Regions from separate parts of the Homo sapiens genome. Here region 1 is linked to region 2. The links are contacts of gene promoters, found by promoter capture Hi-C in blood cells and fetal thymus (Javierre and others, 2016). All regions are on one chromosome and are shown on one strand. Each heading gives the region's core, a stretch centred on a gene start or on the middle of the fragment in contact. The rest is flanking DNA. Distances are from core to core; before and after follow the strand shown.

Region 1 (5,951 bases), core at 2,367-4,866, 1.0 Mb before region 2:
TTTCCCAAATCATCAGGATAACCTTCCATCAGCTGATCTAAAAATGTTTAGACTAAGAAATTATATTAGTGAAAAAGTTACACTAATTTTTGTGAGATGCATCCTTTATATTGCCAATTATGTATAGTAATGATCATATCATGAAATGTGTCAGATAAACATAAGCTGTAATGTATTTGATTATGACACTTAACTCTGCTTGTGTATGCTCAGTCTTACAGAAGCTCAAGCAGCATGGCCATCAGCCTACAACTTTCAATGCCTTCCCATTGCACTCTGCACAAAATCCAACTTCTTGTCCTGACTAACGGCACCACATTTGATCTAGCATTGTCCATCTCCTTACATTTGTATGCAATCTCCTTAAAGATGTCTTGTTTGCCAACATAGCCCCTAGTCTGAGTATAGAGCCTGAGACAATGCAGGTGGTCAGTAAATATCTGTTGAGTAAATGAATGGCTATCACATGAAGGATGATTTTCCTGTTACTAACTACATCCTAAAGTAATGGAATTGAGTCAGCTTCAAAATAGTATTCACTTATTCCTATAGAGATCAGAAACAATCAGCTTACTGCCAATGCTTGCTCAAAAGGCTCAGAATAAAGTACAACAGTTATAAATATATAACAGGTTATGAATGGCAGCATTTCCTGAGTGTGTTTCTAAGGACACCAGTGCCACAAAATATTTCTTTAAAATAGCGTTCAAAGGTTACATCTTATGCCTAACTGACTAATCATCTCCATTTGGATGTCTAAGAGACATCTCAAATTTAACATGACCCAAACTGATTTGATTTCAGTAAACAATACATACATCCTCCCAGTAGCTCATACCAAAAACCTCTAAGTTTTCTTGACCACTTACTCTTATATCCTCATCTAATCCATTAGCAAATCTTCTTGGCTCTACTTTGAAAGTATATCCAGAATCTCAGCACTTCACACATTTTCAGTGTCACCATCTCGGTCTAAGCCACTATTTTCTTTTCCCTGGATTGTTATAGTTGCCTTCTCATTGGTCTCCCTACTTGGGTCCCTGACCCTCCCCACTTCAGTCTATTCTCAGCACAGTAGCCAGACTGATACTTTTCAAAGGAAAGTCAGATCATGTCACACACCTGCTGAAAATCCTCCATGGTTTCCTTTCTCACTCAGAATGAAAGCCAGTCCTTTTGATGGCTTGCACGGCCCTACCTGAACGGGACTCTGGTTATCTTTCTTTTTTTTTTTTCGAGACAGTCTTGCTCTGTTGCCCAGACTGGAGTGCAGTGGTGTGATCTCGGCTCACTGGAAGCCCCGCCTCCCAGGTTCACGCCATTCTCCTGCCTCAGCCTCCCAAGTAGCTGGAACTACAGGTGCCCACCACCACGCCTGGCTAATTTTTTGTATTTTGTTTAGTAGAGACAGGGTTTCACCATGTTAGCCAGGATGGTCTCGATCTCCTGACTTCGTGATCCGCCCGCCTCAGCTTCCCAAAGTGCGGGGATTACAGGCGTGAACCACCACGCCCGACTGACTCTGGTTATCTTTCTATACTCATTGCCTATTACTTTGCTCCAGATAACTGCATGCAAAGGAGGCTTCTACCTCAGGGCCTTTGTACTTGCTGTTCTTCCACTTGATTGAGGAGGTCTTTCTTGCCTATACTTCATAAAATAAGAAATCAACTCCAGCCCCAGATCAGTTTTCTCCAGTCCCTTTCATTGCTTCATTTTCCTTTATAATATGTATCACTAACTGTCACGTTTGCTATATTTGCGGAGTGTCTGCATCTGCTGTCTAGAATGTAAGCTCTATAGGGGCAGGAGTTTTGTCTCATTAACTGCCATGTTCCTAGTACAAAGCCCGATCAAATAAGTCATGTGTCTGAGTGTGTATGCTGAGGTGGGGGAGATATTTCAGAAACAGTATTCCTTGGAGTTTGGGAACGAAAAAAAGAGTTGGAACTTGTAGCCTTCTGACCTTTAGCTCACAAAACAGAAATACTTTAACAGGTACAAGATGAAATGACTCAATATTTAAAATACTCAACTATATTCTACACGAAACTGGCTATTTCTATAACTTAATTTCCTAACAGCTTTAAAAGTTACTACAGATGAGATGAAAAAGAACAAGTCATCTTTCTGAGCCTGAGATTCACCTGTAAAACACTCACGCCAGGCATTGCTGGGAGGAGTGCAAATGATCACTTACTCTGTGTCTAAGATTGACACCTGATTTCTTTCCTATAGATATAAAATATTTTCATTTCAACTCTTCTTTAAAAAGGAAAAATTGTGGTTTTTTTCTTACAACTGCAAAATTTGAGGAATTAAACCATTCTAGACTCCTCTTCAGTGCCCCATCTTTATCCCTGTTCCACAACCACTATCCTATTGTCAGCATGAGACAAGCTCAGCTGCACCAGAATGGTAGAAAATGTCCTTAGAACTCGTAGGGATATTAGATATTATCCTGACCTGTAACTTTCACTGAGGAATAAGAAAGAAATGTATCAGAATGAGGAGGAAAGTGTTTGAAAAACACATTTAAGGCCGGGCGCGGTGGCTCATGCCTGTAAATCCCAGCACTTTGGAAGGCCGAGGCGGACGGATCACCTGAGGTCAGGAGTTGGAGACCAGCCTGGCCAACATGGTGAAACCCCGTCTATACTAAAAATACAAAAATTAGCCGGGCGTGGTGGCGGGCGCCTGTAATTCCAGCTACTCGGGAGGCTGAGGCAGGAGAACCGTTTGAACTCGGGAGGCGGAGGTTGCAGTGAGCCGAGATGGCGCCACTGCACTCTAGCCTGGGCAACAGAGCAACACTCTGTCTCCAAAAAAAAAGAGAAAAACACATTTAGTATTATACTTTTTTTTTTCAGAGGAGAAAACCCCTAAAGATTTGGTAAGAGAAGGAAAAGTTCAACATAATTTTCTTGGTTGATGGGGGTGCACTAAAGATACTGAGACTCAACCAAAGGAATATCCCATTAGGGGGCTGTGAAATTTTTGTGTTTATCAAAATAAGGTAAAAGCTTTTTTAAGAGCCTGAGAAACTCTTATTTAGACTAACCCACTAAAAATATTCACAGTTTAAAAAATAAACAGAAAAAGAGTCCCAAAAAAGTTAATAGACATGTCCAACTCAGAAAACTGGGAAGTGGCTCAAACCCTTCTGAGTTCTAGTCCAGTTCTCCAACATTATATATTGGCTACGATTAATCAAGATTTAATTGTATACCAGCTGCCGAAATGTTTCCCGTACAATAAAAATCCTCAATATGAAATAAAGGTTTCATATTACTAGTCGAGTTCTTTACTAACAAATTTCCGACCTTGCCTCCCATATCCACATCTAAGAAGGGAGGTATATCTCTTCAGCATTTACTAAATGCTTCTTTTGCATACCATTAAGTCACTTAATACAATTCTGCCGGCTCAATGGTACTGTACCCACTTTGCAGACGACAAGCCGAGGCTAGATGAAGTTAATCATAAAATCAGCGGCATTGAAACTTAACTCAGTGTAACCCCAAAGCTCCCTCTACACCAAGCTGCTCCCTGTACGGCAACAGAACTCCTGGAACTTGTCCGCAGAGAATGAGCAGGGCCCTTGCTTTTTTATGGTCTTGGCCAGGTTTAGCCTGCCTTGTAACCCGCAGGTAACAGAGCTATGGAAATCAAATGAATCGCTGTCAAGTCGGTGCAAGATTACTATTCAGCACATTTCATGAAGACCTGGTCTCAACTGAACAGACTGAAAACCAATTTCACAATTTCTTTGCAGTGTCTCTTAGAAACTAGCCACTGTCACTGCTTAGAAAATCGGGGGACTGCTCCCTCAAGTGGTCAAAACGGGCCTCTCACTAGAGCTCGCTACTTGTTTAGCCGGTATAAGGCCAGTCACACAATCCTGCAAATTTCCCGCAACCTCCCGAAGGGGTCAAAGCCCACGCCCCAGCAAAAGCACAGGCGCTCCCCGCCCAGCGAAGACATGCGCATGCGCCTATCCGTCTTCTCCCAAAGCAACCACCACCTGGTGGCGCCACTTCCCCCCACGCCTGTTTCACCCATTCAGCCCTCTCTTTCGAATACCTTTGTCCAATTCCATAAGGGCAGAGTTGGCATCCAGTTCCTGTTCGCCATAGCCGGCATCTGCCAGGAAAGACTTAGTTGAGTTTGACGCCATGACCCGAATAGTTACTCGACTAGCCTAGTCAGAAAGCTTGCAAACTCTACCCCAGGACCGCCATCTTCCCCCGCCGCCTTCTTGCTGGTTTTTCTTCCGCGCGCTGTCAAGCCCTGTTACGCATGCGCCCTGGTCACCCCGCGGTTTGTCCGCGCCTCTGCTACCCCCTGCGCAGGCGCTCAAGGAGCTCTTGGACTCCAGGTTCCCGCGGCTGGGAGAAAAGGAGGCGGGGATCCGAAGGGGGAAATGACTCTGAGGCGCCCGGACGTCGCTCGGAAGCCAATCAGAGAGCGTGACGTCAGTTTGGCGCGGAGTTTGGCGGCCGGGGCTTACAGTGGCGGGAGTTGGAGGCGATAACGATTTGTGTTGTGAGAGGCGCAAGCTGCGATTTCTGCTGAACTTGGAGGCATTTCTACGACTTTTCTCTCAGCTGAGGCTTTTCCTCCGACCCTGATGCTCTTCAATTCGGTGCTCCGCCAGCCCCAGCTTGGCGTCCTGAGAAATGGTGAGTAACGGTCCCAACCGCTGCTCGGAGCTGGCGGAATTCATTTCCCCCGAAACACACGCCACCTCCGACCAGGGCCGACTCCAATTCTGAACTCAGCTTCTGAGTTCTCCCATGGCAAGGGTAAATTAGTGTTAGCAGGGACTACTAAAGAAAGCTGTACTTTCATCCCCTCGGGACACTTGTAATCGTAATCGGGCTTTTAAAATCGTAACGTAGGCAGGGACGTCGAAATAACTGCCTTCCAAGGCCCCTTACAGCTTACATCTCCATTGCGCGTTAACGGGAAAATGCATGCATTTGTGTGTATATGTTTCCTTCAACGGTTATTTGAGATGCTCAAAACTCCTAATCATTGATTAATTCATTCGTTTGTTGTAGAATCTTAGTGAGCCCAGCTATGTGCTATAGGTATATACCAGTGAATATGACCCGCTGTTAAGGAACTCAGTCAAGCAGAGAAGACAGGATATCTGCTTCTAACAGGAACAAAATCTTATTTTCCCCGTTTACTACACGGTCATAAAAATTTAAATTATAGAGTGAAAGATGCCTGTAACCACATCCGCCAGAGATGACCCCTGTTAATAGATTGAAGTATATTATTCCAGATGTTTTCGACGCTAGAGGTAATACCTATTATTTTCAGAAATCGGATCAAAACGTCCAGTTTTTTCACTTTAATGGTATAAGTTGAACGTATTCCCATGTTAATACGTAGAAATCTAACTTATTTTCTTACGCTAAAACATTGGCAATAAGAGATTTGAGGTTAGATTTGGATGTCATCAACTTAAACTTTTTGGTAAGTTTCAGATAAGGGAGCTAACTACCCAGATTAACCTTGGACAGAAATAAAATCTCACTCATGTGAAGGTCGACTATAGCCAGAGGTTCTTTTTCCCCTTGAAACTATGTGGAAAACGAACCTGAGAAGGGAATTTTTATATTCAGCGATGAGTCTAGGAAAATAATATTGAGAAAGAGACTGAGAAGTAGTCCCTCAACTTCCTGCTAGCAGTCTGAAACTTTATACCATCCTTATTTATTTCCCTCTTAGATAATCTTTGTAATTATACTTAAATGCTCCTCTTTCTGTCTCTCCTGGGACCTTGTTTGAGTAACTTCTTTGTCCTCTGTTTAAGAGTGACAGTACGCACAGTGGCTAAGAACTCTGTCTTTGAAGTTAAACTGCCTGGGTTTTATTATACTTCCACACCTTACTATATGTGTGTTCTGGGGGAGCTGTTCAGCCTCTATTTTGTGACA
Region 2 (6,080 bases), core at 522-3,021:
GTGAAACCAGATTGAATTGGACATGGGAATAAATGGGTGATGATGCAATGTTGATGTAGATTACTTTAAAATCAACTTAAACAACTTTGACGGTGAGTGGAAGGAGAAAGAAAGGAAGAAAAGAAGGCAAAATGAATAATGCCCTTTACTCCCTTCTCTCCTGGCTAACTCCCATCTCTCTTCCAAGACTCAGTCTTCTATCAGAAAGCCTTAGGCGATCTTCCATCCTGAATTGATGTGCTCTTTAGTACTCCATATATACATTCACCATGGTACTTATCACAGTATATTTTGTGTCTTTATTTTTCCTACTAGATGGTACTTGAGAACAGGGACTATCTACCTTTTTTTTTTTTTTTTTTTTTTTGAGAGAAGTCTTGCTCTTGTCCCCCAGGCTGAAGTGCAATGGTGCGATCTTGGCTCACCGAAACCTCCACCTCCCGGGTTCAAACGACTCTTTTGCCTCAGCCTCCCAAGTAGCTGGGATTGCAGGCGCCTGCCACCACGCCTGGCTAATTTTTTGTATTTTTAGTAGAGACGGGGTTTCACCATGTTGGCCAGGCTGGTCTCGAACTCCTGACCTGAGGTAATCCGCCCGCCTCGGCCTCCCAAAGTGTTGGGATTACAGGCGTGAGCCACCGCGCCCGGTCGGAGAACAGGGACTATCTTTGTAACTCCAATGCCAAATTGGCATCATGTCTGGCACATAGTAGGTGGTGAATTCAGGTTTAATGAATGACTAATAGACTTAGATATATGTAGGTTGAAAAGAAGGAGCCAGTGGTGAGAAAGAGATTAAACATACAGAAAGGAGATTTGGAATGTCATTGAAACAGTGTCTTAAGGTTTGCCAAAGAGGATGGGATTCAGATCACATGTGGAGTCATTAGCTGTAAAAATGAGCAAGTGATATGTGTACGTTTCAGACTGGCATGGAAATGTGAGAAGACAAAGGAATTGGTACTAAGGGCCATAGCTGCTTCTTCCTCTTCTTTTTTCCCTGTAAAGAAGAGTGGTGGTGCGGAGAGTAGGGAGGCAAAAGGAAGAGGAACAGAGTCTTTAGGATAATGGCAAAGACTTGGCATGAATATTTTGTGGAATGAAAAGGAACCTTGATCACAAAAAGATAAAGGAACTGCCAAGCGTTGATAACAACCTCAGCTGAAATTGGAAACTGTAGTGAGTGACTCGGAGAGGTCGAGTGACATATTTCTTTCTTCTAGCCAGAGGCGGACTCCAGATTTTCGAACCTGTGGGGATTTTTAAAAGATTGATATTGGCTTGGGAGCTTTTTTGGGTTGGGGGCTTGCTGTGCAGATGTGTTACAGAAAGGCGCTCAATGGAAGGAAATTCGTCTTAGAAAGAAGTAAGGGATATGTCTCAGAGAATGAGATGTTGCTGTGGGTATTTAAAATGATAGGCTGTGAATAGGTAAGGAAAGAAGGTGCTAGGCTATGGTATCTCTCCATCCCTTCAACACTCCACTTAAGTTTGTACCACGGCGGGGCGGAGGCAGGGAGGACCACGCTCTCCCGGTGTGGCGTGGCTATACCAACTCTCATAAAATCTCATAAAAGGTGACGGAGCTAGCGTACAAGAGGTCGTCTTTAGTGGAGAGGCCTGAGGTCTCCGCAGTGACGGGGGTGGCAGCGCGACCCCTTAGTCTTCAACTACAGGCCAGTCCCAGGTGCCCCAAAGGGGCTAGAATCTAAGGAGGAGTCTCCCCTCCCCCTAGAAGCGGGAGATAGCCTGGCCCGGAAGCTTCTCTGCTGACCCGGAAGCAGAGCTGTGCAGCTGAGGCGCCGCCGTGGAGCCGCCTTGGAGCCACCGCCCCCTCGCCGCTTCGCCGCTGCGTTGGGGAACCTGGACCGCGGCGGCGCCGGGTTTCCCTCATGATCCCGGGCGGGTGGCGGCGGCGGCAGAGGCGGCGGGAGGATGACCTCTTACCGGGAGCGGAGTGCCGACCTGGCCCGTTTCTACACTGTCACCGAGCCCCAGCGACACCCGAGGGGCTACACAGTATATAAGGTCACCGCCCGGGTGAGTGCCGGTGTCGGGCTGGGGTAGAGCTTGGATTGGGACCTGAGGATCTGGGGTGGGGACCCTGATGTGAGGGTACCTGACTCTGGCTCAGAGCCGAGGGTGGGACTGGGTGCTGCTCCTACTGGCGGGACTTGGGTGTCGGAGGTTGGGATTTTTAGAGTAGTGGCTGAGTGTGATATGCCCAGGGCTTCACTGTAGTAGGTCGTGGTAGAGTCCTCTTTCTGGGGGTGGGGCAGTCAGTGGTTGATGGTTTTAAATTGATGACTCAGTTCCCATCCCGTTTGGACTTTCTCTTCTGAGTTCGCAATTTGCAGAAGTGGTTTTGCTTGCTCCAGGAAGATAATGCAGATTAAAAAGTGTTAATTTATGTATTGTTTGGCTTATGTAATATAAGTTGTTTTTTCTCTTGACCTTTATCAGGTTTGCTGTGAGAAAGACAGATTCTTGGGACAGATGTCAGTGTTAGGCCACCAACCTAGGAACTGTGGATCCGGGCTTTGTCAAACCTTTGAGTTTTTCATGTTTTTCAGTAGGAGACGTGAAAAAAATCTGCTGAGGGTGGCTTGTGTGAGCTACCATGAGGGCACATTTTAAAGTTGGGAGGCTCCTTTACATCAACTAACTGGTCCAATTTTTAGTACCCACTTTATGTTTCATTGCTTTTGCCTTGAGTTTTAAAGAGAGTCTGCATCTTCTAGGAAAGTAAGAATAAATCAAAATTAAATAAGTATATATGTATGTGACGTATGTGTGCATGAATATATGTGTATAGTAGGCATTTTATGCACATCACCCAATTTAATTCTCATTTTAATGAGGAAGAAATAGATTAAAGCAAGTTTAGTAACTTGCCCAACTTTACATTGCAAGGCAGTAGCAGATCTGTCTGGGATCTGAAACCAGTTTTGCCTAACTCCAAGTTATATAAAATGTTAATAATTAACTTTATCAATTTTTAAAGAAGAGAGGTACAGATTAAGTAACAGTAGTTCAATATACATTTGGAGGATGTAAAGCAGGCCTTCAGAATAATTTTTTTTTTTTTGAGACGGAGTTTCGCTCTTGTTGCCCAGGCTGGAGTGCAATGGCATGATCTCTGCTCACCGCAACCTCTGCCTCCTGAGTTCAAGCGATTCTCCTACCTCAGCCTCCCGAGTAGCTGGGATTACAGGCATGTGCTACCATGCCCTGATAATTTTTTGTATTTTTAGTAGAGATGGGGTTTCTGCATGTTGCTCAGGCTCATTTCGAAGTCCTGACCTCAGTTGATCCGCCTGCCTCGGCCTCCCAAAGTGCTGGGATTACAGGCATGAGCCACCACACCCAGCCTGAGAAGAATCTTAAAGGTTAAATAGATCAGTTTGGGGCATGGGAGTGGCACGTGATGTATGGAAATGGTGCACAATTCAGATAAATGTGAGAAGGAGGGATAGATGAACATGTCTGTATAAAGATAATGAGAAGACCTGACCTGCTATTGCCGATTGCTGTTCGGAGAATAGAGGGATGTTTGTTGCTCCCTGCTTGCACTTAAGGTTGTTACATGGGTGGAATGTTAGTTTCAGGTTGTGTAAGAAATTTTGTGAGAGTGAGGGGCCCTTATTATACCACTCTTGAAACCTTTCTAGTCATTGGGCCCTTTGAAAATCTAGGCTTAGTTTCCTAACACATAGTGTATGGAATCAGAACAGTTTTCAACATACGTAATGTTTCTCTCACAGCATCCTACTTATCCGTTAATTTAACAGGAAAGTTATATTGTATTAATTTAGTTGCATGTCTGTGTCTCTTAGTGGATTTAGAGCAGTTCTCTATCATTGGCATTTGTTTCTGCTTATATCAAATAATAGATAAAAGAACATGCATGTGCATGGCACACAGTGCCTGAAAAACATTGTTGAATGTTTTCCTCTTCATTGTACGGAGCACACCCAATAAATGTTTAGATCCAGGCACTAAATACTGAGGGACATAAGGCTGAATAAAGCAGGGATCTTTATTCCTTTCAAGGATACTCATAGTAGAAGAGAGTTTAGTATACTTAAGTGTGATATAACACAGGAAGTTCCAGCAGACACTACAGAAAAGGGCTGTGGGAAGACAGATTGCTTCTGGATCAAGAGATTGGGGAATATGTACCAATCAAGATAGTTGAAAGAGGGGAAGAATCCAGAAAAGGAGAGGGTATGAAAAGGTAGACAGTTGAAGGGGTAGAGTCCATAAAGACCTGGAGGTATGAATGTGTGTGGAACTGGAATTGGAAGCACTGAGTATAATTATTTGTATTGTTACTTTACAAAAGGAAAGGTTAACCAAATTCAGAATTTTTTTTTTTTTTTTCCAAGGCGTAGTCTCGCTCTCTTGCCCAGGCTGGAGTGCAGTGGCGCTATCTCAGCTTACAGTAACCTCGCCTCCTGGGTTCAAGTGATTCTCCTGTCTCAGCCACTCAAGTAGCTGGGATTACAGGCGCCCTCCACCATACCCGGCTAATTTGTCTATTTTTTGTAGAGACGAGGTTTCGCCTTGTTGTCCAGTCTGGTCTCGAACTCCTGACCTCAGGTGATCCACCCACCTCAGCCTCCCAAAGTGCTGGGATTACAGGCGTGAGCCACCGCATTGGCCAAATTCAGATCTTAAATATCTGAAGCTGTGACCTATTTACTGAGCTAAGTTTTGACAATATAAACTAGAAGATAAAGTAGCACATTGCCTTAGAACTAACCACATTTATATATATGCATGTTACATATTGCTCTGGTTATTTGAACTTGAAAATTGCACAGACTGCCTTTTTTCTTCCCGTAAATATTTATGTCTTCATTTATTGCTTATGTTACAGATTTTGTTTTTAAAATGTAAGGTCTGAGAGTCAACGTGGAGACATACTTTTAAAATAACTGTGCTTAGTATTATAAAATATTTCTTGAGAGTTAAGGAGAAAAACACCTTTTTTCAGGATAATTAACCAGGTAAATAGTGCTCTCCTGAGAGAACTTCATGAGATAAAAATTAAGAATGTCTTCTGTATATTTTCTACTACTGATTTACTTCTAGCTTCAAGGAACAATTTTCTATATTTTTGATCCTTGCAGGGTTATTTCTGTAGGAGTAGAGTTTTAATCATTGGAAGTACCAATGTTAAATTTTGGATAGCAAAAGAGCTTTTTCATCTTCTTAAATCTCCTTTGTGCTTTTTTGCAGTTCTCTGAAATCTGGCAAGGTTAGATGATTTTGAGGCCAGTTGCAAGCATACTAACAGATTCTGCAGTTAAACTCAGTGTTATTTCTTAATTTTTATGTAGAATAAGTACCTCTATTCAGAATTGGAAAATTCTTTCATAAGTTCCCTTTGATTCTTTAGTTGAAGGAGACACAAGTGTAAGAGAACCATCAGCAGTGTTTTCAGTTATTTCATCATGCTAAGTTTACAAAATTCTCATATTGTAGTATAGATTTCTCAGCAACAGTAGGTGAATGGCAGTTCTTGCCTGTATTCTTTCCATGAGTATAAAAGGTATGTTTTTATTCTCAAAAGACAGTGCTGTATTATAACTTATTTAATTTACATTGAGTCATAATTTATATACAGTAAAATTCACCCATTGTAAGTGTCCAATTTGATGAGTTTTGACAAATGTATACAGTTGTGTAACTACCCATGTTCATCACTGCACAAGTTCCCTCATGTTCCTTTGCAGTCAGTCACTCCCCCTCATTCCCTATCTCTAGGCAACCACTGGTTTGCTTTCTGTCACTATAGATTGGGTTGTATTTTCTAGAATTTTGTATACAAGGAATCATATAGTATGCACTTTTTTTTTTTGGTCTGGCTTCTTCCACTCAGTATGATTATTTGAGATTTATCCATGTTGTCATGTGTTTCATTCCCTTTTATTGCTGACTCATATTCCATTGTATGGTTATACTGCATTTTATCTGTATATACTGCATTTTATCTGATGGATATTTGGGTTGTTTCCAGTTTTTGGACATTATGAATACAGCTATTATGAACATTCATATACAAGTCTTTGTAT

Evidence for each region. The method cuts DNA at HindIII sites, captures the fragments that hold promoters and counts their contacts. A CHiCAGO score of 5 or more calls a contact.
Region 1: a fragment that was not itself captured here is called in contact with the fragment with the promoter of RPS6KC1 in region 2 in 1 of 17 cell types (monocytes); the score reaches 6.7 in monocytes.

Annotation. Positions count from the first base shown.
Region 1 is chr1:212,031,261-212,037,211 of GRCh38, forward strand. It overlaps INTS7 (integrator complex subunit 7), which reads right to left and starts at 4,297. Exons shown (of 20, transcript NM_015434.4): 1 at 4,084-4,297. The coding sequence starts at 4,177. DTL (denticleless E3 ubiquitin protein ligase adapter) reads left to right here and starts at 4,488. Exons shown (of 15, transcript NM_016448.4): 1 at 4,488-4,682. The coding sequence starts at 4,631. RefSeq lists enhancers at 4,148-4,357, 4,236-4,772, 4,518-4,757, 4,773-5,307. The HindIII fragment of the contact is 1,190 bases long and covers 3,022-4,211 here.
Region 2 is chr1:213,049,470-213,055,549 of GRCh38, forward strand. RPS6KC1 (ribosomal protein S6 kinase C1) reads left to right here and starts at 1,772. Exons shown (of 15, transcript NM_012424.6): 1 at 1,772-2,040. The coding sequence starts at 1,936. RefSeq lists a silencer at 1,901-2,000. The HindIII fragment of the contact is 5,380 bases long and covers 1,760-6,080 here.